Regions from separate parts of the Homo sapiens genome. Here region 1 is linked to region 2. The links are contacts of gene promoters, found by promoter capture Hi-C in human tissues and cell types (Jung and others, 2019). All regions are on one chromosome and are shown on one strand. The core of a region is centred on a gene start or on the middle of the fragment in contact, and the rest is flanking DNA. Distances in the headings are between cores, read along the strand shown. Region 1 overlaps CELA2B (chymotrypsin like elastase 2B). Region 2 holds the start of CTRC (chymotrypsin C).

Region 1 (4,109 bases), core at 402-2,901, 51 kb after region 2:
TTGCCCAGGACTGAGAGGTTTTCCAGGATGCGGGACTTCCTGTTTTACACTGGGACCATCCCAGGCAAATAAAGCTGAGTTGGTCCCCGTCTTGTAAATGTAAACTCAGAGAGCTGTCTCCTGTGAGCTTCCACACTAGCTCAAATTCTTTTTAACAATGAACACACATTTTTTATAACAATAAGCATTAAAAATATTTATTAAAAATAATAGGCCAGGTGCCATGGCTCATGCCTGTAATCGCAGCACTTTGGGAGGCCAAGGAAGGAGGATTGCTTGAGCCCAGGAGTTCAAGAGCAGCCTGGGCAACATAGCGAGACTCTGTCTTTACAAAGATTTTTTTTTTTAATTAGCCATGGTGGTGCATGCCTGTAGTCTCAGCTGCTTGGGAGGCTGAGGTGGAAGGATCGCTTTGGCCCAAGAGGTGGAGCCTACAGTAAGCCAAGGTCGCACCACTGCACTGCAGCCTGAGCGACATAGCAAGACCCTGTCTCTGAAAATAATGATAATAATAGTTGGCATAAATATTAAGGAGCAGCCATGGATACACACAGAAGTAGATGAAAGCAGCCAGAAGAGGAAACCCCGTCACAAGAAAGGGGAGCCCAGGAGAGGGCAGAGGAGACACCATGCCTGGTAATAGAAGCTGGGGGAGAAGAGGCGGATACTTTGTGCCAATTAGGGACCACCTGTTTGCTCTTCTGTAAAGTGGGACTTGAACTAGACCTCCACATTTTTAGGCACTAGAGCAAGAGGGAGTTATGGTATTCGTGGCAGAGCCCCCAAAGAAGGGGAAAGCTGACATCTGACTTCACTAAGTTTAATTTGCAGAGAAGTGTTAAATTGAATTAAACTGACACTTATAAAACCAAATATGAAACTGCAGCCATAAGCACGTGGTCAGGGGAGAAAACTAAACTGTCAAAATAAGCAGGTGGCTGCTTCCAAGTGTTCCCATTGATTCTTGCCAGCTCCTTGTTCATTTGTCTGTCTGCTGGCATCCTTTTGCCAACAAGTGGTCATAGGCAGAAATTCCAAAAAAGTTTGTTGGAAAAAAATGGAAAATCAAAAAGACAGTAGCCATTAATCATTAATTGGGGCTTTTTATATCTAAATTGGGAAAAACCCATCTGAGTCCACCTTTGGAGGCACCACGCACGTCAAAGGAGCCTGGCCTGAGACTGACTGGACGAAAGGCTGCTTAGGGGCCTTTCCCAGCCAAATCCTAAGACCGTTTTCCAGCCCCAGCTGCTGTGGGAGTCACCGTGCAGCTGGTCCTGGCAGCATCCTGGGGACCTGAAGCAGGGGCAGGGGCAATTGTCCCGATCTGTTGTCCCAGCATCAGCTGTTCCCAGCATCAGCTGTTCCCAGCCACAGACACAAGCACAACAGAACAGGCCAGATCCCAAAGCATGGCCAGATGGCAGCAGGGATCCACGGGGCAGCACGCCTCCCGAGGCAGCTGGGCAGAGGCCCTGTGTTCATGGGAGAGCAGTCGGGACAGGCACAGATGCCCGGTAACGGGTTTCAGAAGGGGGAGAGCCAAGCAACCAGCTGTCCTTGGGTGGGGGCTGCCCCTGGCAGCGGCAGAGGGGCTAGTGAAACCTTGAAGTGGCCCCAACCCAGGGACACAGTGTGTGCAGCCTGGAGTCACGTACCACTAGAGCCCTGGGGGTGACTGAGAGCACCTGCCTGGATAAACCCAGACAGGTGACAAGCCAAGGTCAGGAAGTACAAGCAAAAGATAAGAGCAGAGAAGCAGAGGAGACAAGTGGCCTGCGGCATTCATCCTTTCAACAAATGTCAGTTGAATGACAGTCACACATGAACTCCAGCAATCCTTAGTTTTTATTCTTTTTCCAGAAGGTAATACATACTCTTTGTAAAAATATTAAAAGAATACAGGAGAGTATCAAGTAAAAAAGTAGAAGTCCCCCCTCATTTTACATCTCCAATTCCACTCTCCAGAGGTAATCATTGTTTTTGTTTTGTTTTTTTTCAAATGGAGTCTCGCTCTGTTGCACAGGCTGGAGTACAGTGGCTTGATCTCAGCTCACTGCAACCTGCGCCTCCCGGGTTCAAGCAATTCTCCTGCCTCAGCCTCCTAACTAGCTGGGATTACAGGCATGCACCACCATGCCCAACTAATTTTTGTATTTTTAGTAGAGATGGGGTTTCACCATGTTGGCCAGGCTGGTCTCAAACTCCTGACCTCAGGTGATCTGCCCACCTCAGCCTCCCAATGTGCTGGGATTACAAGCGTGAGCCACTTCGCCCTGCCAATCATTGTTAAAAGCTTGGTGTGTGGTCTTCTCAACTTTATGTGCATATCTATCTATCTATCTATCTATCTATCTATCTATCTATATACACACACACACACATAGACACTGTCTTCTAAGCAAAAACTAGGATCTGAGTCTTCATACTGTTCTGCAGCTATTTTTCACTTAACACCTTATCACATTTTACATGTCAGTACATACATGTCATTCTTTTGAACAGCTAAATAGTATTCCATAGTTTGAGTGTAATGAATGCAGCTTTCATGTTTCCTATTTTTCACTCTTACATTGTGCAATGAACATCCTTGGACATAATTCTTGCACACTTGAGTATTTGTGCTGTAGCAGCTGGATATCCTGCCGTTTACAGCACTGGATCATGAAGTTGGCATATCAAAATGTTTAACAGGCTGGGCGCGGTGGCTCACGCCTGTAATCCGAGCACTTTGGGAAGCCGAGACGGGTAGATCACTTGAGGTCAGCAGTTCGAGACCAGCCTGGCCAACATGGTGAAACCCTGTCTCTACTAAAAATGCAAAAAAATCAGCCAGGCATGGTGGTGCACACCTGTAATATCAGCTACTCGGGAGGCTAAGGCAGGAGAATCGCTTGAACCTGGGAGGCAGAGGTTGCAGTGAGCCTAGAATATGCCACTGTACTCGTCTGGGCAACAGAGCAAGACTGTCTCAAAAAAAAAAAAAAAAAGTTTAACAGATACTGATCAACAGCCTCTGGAAACAGTTATAGCCCCAACCACAGTGCATAACTGCCTTGCAAACAGCAGTTTTGATGAGAAACAAATGAAATCTAAAAATATGCCATCCGCACATTTGGCATATAATTTTTAGGGGGTTCGAAGGCCCCCTGACCTGAAGCCCACACAGGACTCCTGGCTAAGACCCCCTTTACAGGAAGACCCTAACAGGTCAATGAAAAGCTGTGATTGCATCTTTTTCTCCGAAACATCATCTGAACTCCTCAGGCAGGAGCTACTGTAGTGTGGGCTGCCTGTGACTCACTTGAGTAGCTTAGCCCAGGAGGACAGAGACAGGAAACTGCCACGCACAGCTCTGTGGTTACGTGAACCTGACAATTTTCTTGTGTGTGTGTCCTGCAGGTGATTGCAAATAACTAACCAAAAGAAGTCCCTGGGACTGTTTCAGACTTGGAAAGGTCACAGAAGGAAAATAATATTATATAAAGTGACAACTATGCAAATCACATCTTGATGAGGGTTTTATTATTATTATTAATTCAGAAATCCATCCTAACATCCAGGGCCCTAAGAACCAGAAATAGGTCAGGCGCAATGGCTCAAGCCTGTAACCCCTGCACTTTGGGAGGCTAAGGCAGGCTGATCGCTTGAGTCCAGGAGTTCAAGACCAGCCTGAGTAACATGGCATAACTCTGTCTCTACTAAAAATACAAAAATTAACTGGGAGAGGTGGTGCACACCTGTAGTCCAAGCTACTCAGGTGGCTGAGGTGGAAGGATCTCTTGAGCCCAGGAGGTCGAGACTGCAATAAGCCAAGATTGCGTCATTGCACTCCAGCCTGGGCGACAGAGTGAGACCCTATCTCCAAAAAAAAAGGCCCAAAAAACAAGAAATAGGCTGGCATAAGGACAGCTTAAAAGACCTCAGGGTGGAGCCTTGTGGGGAAGCCCAGCGTGTCACTATTGCACAGCACGTTCACACTGCAGTCCGGGGGTGCTTCAGCAAGTAAGGCACATGGGAAGCATGGCTAGGACTCAGGGGACCCAGGTTCTGGCCAGGTCTCTTCTCTGGATAATCGTTTTCCCTTGGACAAGAGACCTAACCTCCCT
Region 2 (4,092 bases), core at 205-2,704:
CTGACCTTGACATTCAAGTTACAGAATTGTAGAACTGAAAGGAGCCTGAAAGTCCATCTGGTCCTTTTGCCCATTTTAGAGATGGGGAAACTGAGGACCTACAACTAAGCTGACTCCAGGAAGGAATCTGGCCAACTAAGCACCTTCCAGAGCCTGCTGCATCCCTGCCTCCAACCACAGCCCTGGAGGCAGGTGCAGGAGTGCATCAAGCCCAGGCAATTAGAAAGATGAGACAGAGAGAGAGCCAGGAAGCGATCCAATAGCACTAGAAAGGCAGAGAAGGAGCAGCATGTCTCCACAGCTTGAAGCCCCAGGCTGGTGTTAGAAGCTTTGGCTTCAAAGTCTGGCTCTGCTGCTGCCCAGCCGTGTGACCCTAGATGGTCACTTACCCGCTGAGTCTCAGCTTCCTCACTTTTATTTTATTTTTTTAGAGACAAGGTCTTGTTCTGTCACCCGCGCTGGAATGCAGTGTGGCACGATCACGGCTCACTGCAGCCTCGAACTCCTGGGCTCAAGCGATCCTCCTACCTTGGCCTCAGGAGTAGCTGGGACTACAGGCATGCACCACTGCGCCTGGTCCTTTCTCATCTCACCTCAGAGCAGATAACCGCGTCTATTTCATGTTGTTGGAAGAATTAAGTGAGATAATGCAAGAAGAATTGAGCGCAATGCCTGACACACAGTAGGTGCCCAATAAATAACTAAAAAGAATAAGGTAACGGCCTGTAATCACACCTGTAATCCTAGCACTTTGGGAGGCTGAGGTAGGCAGATTGCCTAAGCTCAGGAGTTCAAGACCACCCTAGGCAACAGGGTGAAACCCTGTCTCTACTAAAATACAAAAAAAAAAAAAAAAAAAAAATGGTGGCACACATCTGTAGTCCCAGCTACTTGGGAGGCTGAGACAGGAGAATCGCTTGAACTCGGGAGGCGGAGGTTGTAGTGAGCTGAGACTCCAGCCTGGGTGACAGAGCAAGATCCTGTCTCAAAAAAATAAATAAAATACAAAAGATTAACCTGGCGTGGTGGCAGGCGCCTGTAGTCCCAGCTACACAGGGGGCTAAGGCACGAGAATCGTTTGAGCCCGGGAGGTGGAGGTTGCAGTGAGCTGAGACTGTGCCACTGCATTTCAGCCTGGGCAACAGAGCAAGACTCCATCTCCAAATAAATAAATAAATAGTATAAGGTAGGGAGAGAGAATGAACACACACGTCAAACAGAGTGGGGTGGGGGATGCCAAAAAGCACTGCAACTCAGAATTTTCTGTTTCAGGATATTTGGAAAATCCATACTTCTAAGAAAGCCCTGTCTCCTGCCCAAATTAAACAGTAACCACCCAAGGTCAGGGAAAGGGCCTTATCAGAGCAGGTTTCTCTCCAAGGGGCGGTTTGGCCTTGACCAGGTGCACTCACCTGCTCCTGCCTATAAGTGTGCCCCAGCCCATCCCGATGGTCAGCCAGTCCTGAGCACCTAACCATGTTGGGCATCACTGTCCTCGCTGCGCTCTTGGCCTGTGGTAAGCGGTGGGGTGGGGCTGCAGCTAGCAGGCTGTGAGCTCGGGCTGGCCTCCAGGGCAAGGACGGGATGGGGAGTGGGGGGGCCTCTGCTCTCCAGGTAAGACACTTTGGGGTCCCCTGTGGGTTCAGATGCTACCAACCAGCTGTGTGTCAGACAAGCCACAGCCTGCCTGCCAACTCTGTTTCCACATCTGCAAAACAGGGAAGATGATCTGACGTGTCCCCAGTTAGAAATGAGGTGTGGAAAGCACCACGCAAGGGGGAGGGACACGAGATGCCTCATCCTGGGTTCACCCCAGGGACCATCGGGGTCTGCCTTTCCCAGCATTCTCTCTCCCTTGAGGATTCTCCATTCCATCATTTTGGTGGCGTTTTCCCAGATTAGGAGCCCAGGGACTTAGCTTAAATGCCACTTCTTCTCTGCAGGACCTGGAAAAGTCATTTCACCTCTCTAAATCTCACTAACTTTTTTGGCAAAGGAGAGCACTTAATGAAGAGTCCTTCCAGCTAACAACAACAACAGTAATAATAGCAGCTCCTGTTTCCTGTGTGTTTACTATGTGCCAGACGCTATGCTAGGCCCCTTACATGTAGGAGCCAATTTAATCCTCAAAACAACCTTAAGAGGTAGGGTCTATTGCCAGGCATGGTGGCTCACGCCTGTAATCCCAGCACTTTGGGAGGCCGAGGTGGGTGGATCACTTGAGATCAGGAGTTTGAGACCAGTCTGGCCAACAAGATGAAACCCCGTTTCTACTAAAAATACAAAAATTAGCCAGGCGTGGTGGCGGGCACCTGTAATCCCAACTACTCAGAAGGCTGAGGCAGGAGAATTGCTTGAACCCAGGAGGAGGTTGCAGTGAGCCGAGATCGCGCCATCAAACTCCAGCCTGGGCAACAAGAGTGAAACTCCGTCTCAAAAAAAAAAAAAAAAGAAAAAGAAAGAAAAAGAGGTAGGGTCTTTTCATAGCCCCATTTTACAGATGAGGACATCGAGGTTCCGTGCGACTTAGTATCTTGCCTGACATCACATGGCAGGTTAGTGGAAGAGGCAGAATTTGAGTCCACGTCTGTCTCGCGGAACAGCACGTGTTCTTGACCGCTCCACACAGCTTCCCAGCTATAACAGTGGATTTACTGCTCTCTCACACACACACCATGATGCAGGGGCCTAAAAACAGACAGAAGAACACAGGTGTACCGGGCACTCGCACACATGCCAGCCAGTTTTGTTTTGTTTTGTTTTGTTTTTTGAGATGGAGTTTTGCTCTTATCACCCAGGATGGAGTGCAATGGCACGATCTCGGCTCACTGCAACCTCCATCTCCCAGGCTCAAGCGATTCTCCTGCCTCAGCCTCCTGAGTGGCTGGGATTACAGGCATGCACCACCACGCCTGGCTAATTTCTGTATTTTTAGTAGAGACAGGGTTTCGCCATGTTGGCCAGGCTGGTGTCAAACCCCTGATCTCAAGCGATCCACCCGCCTTGGCCACCCAAAGTGCTGGGATTACAGGTGTGAGCCACCGTGCCCGGCCAAACGCTTTCTTTTTTATGTGTTGTCTAATTCAGTTCTCAGGGCAAACTCACCGCATTAGTGTGATTCTTCACATTTCACAGAAAGGGAAAACAAGGCCTAGAGACCTGGGTGGCTTACCCCCGTGACACAGTAAAATATCAACCCCGTGTCTGCCCAGCCCCAACTCTGTGCTTCTTCCACCTGCCCACCCTCCCACCCCTTTCCCCGTGGGCTACCAGCCCTATTCACTGGTTCTTCTGGCCTCCTGTCTCCCCAGCCTCCAGCTGTGGGGTGCCCAGCTTCCCGCCCAACCTATCCGCCCGAGTGGTGGGAGGAGAGGATGCCCGGCCCCACAGCTGGCCCTGGCAGGTAAGCCTGTGTAGGGCTGGGAGGTACAGATAGAGAGGGTGGCGGGGTGAGGGTCCCAGGGACCTGCAGGCTGACACACAGCCCTCCCCACCCTCCTGCAGATCTCCCTCCAGTACCTCAAGAACGACACGTGGAGGCATACGTGTGGCGGGACTTTGATTGCTAGCAACTTCGTCCTCACTGCCGCCCACTGCATCAGGTGTGCGGGGATGATACCCTGAGACCTGGCCATCGTCCGGGGGCGGAAGCCTGATACTCTGCTTTTTCTGAGCAGCTTCTCCGCACTCCAGGCACTGGGCTACATAATCTACTCACACCCAGTAACTCAGTTGTGCATTTAGTCAGTCAAGTATTCATTGTGCATCTATTATGTGCCAGGAACCAGCAGTGAAGACAAAGTCTGTGCTCTCGGGAAGCTTATATTTTTGTGGAAGACAGAGCGGCAGACAATTAAACAAATATATAGCATCTCAGGTGATTTAAAATAATACTAATAATAAGGTATTGGCCAGGAGCAGTGGCTCACGCCTGTAATCATAGCACTCTGGGAGGCCGACGCAGGCGGATCACCTGAGGTCAGGAGTTCGAGACCAGCCTGGTCAACATAGTGAAACCCCGTCTCTACCGAAAATACAAAAATTAGCCAGGCGTGGTGGCGGGCACCTGTAATCCCAGCTACTCGGGAGGCT

Evidence for each region. Contacts are between HindIII fragments. The study calls those that stand out against the background at their distance.
Region 1: a fragment that was not itself captured here is called in contact with the fragment with the promoter of CTRC in region 2 in 1 of the 25 tissues and cell types used here (ovary).

What each region holds. Positions count from the first base shown.
Region 1 is chr1:15,487,893-15,492,001 of GRCh38, forward strand. CELA2B (chymotrypsin like elastase 2B) reads left to right here. Exons shown (of 8, transcript NM_015849.3): 8 at 3,403-3,503. The coding sequence ends at 3,420. CASP9 (caspase 9) reads right to left here. Exons shown (of 9, transcript NM_001229.5): 9 at 3,509-4,109. Among named protein-coding and RNA genes, the nearest start is that of CELA2B, 14 kb to the left of the region's middle. The HindIII fragment of the contact is 4,003 bases long and covers 1-3,653 here.
Region 2 is chr1:15,436,989-15,441,080 of GRCh38, forward strand. It overlaps CTRC (chymotrypsin C), which reads left to right and starts at 1,455. Exons shown (of 8, transcript NM_007272.3): 1 at 1,455-1,516; 2 at 3,312-3,403; 3 at 3,505-3,602. The coding sequence starts at 1,477. The HindIII fragment of the contact is 5,601 bases long and covers 1-4,092 here.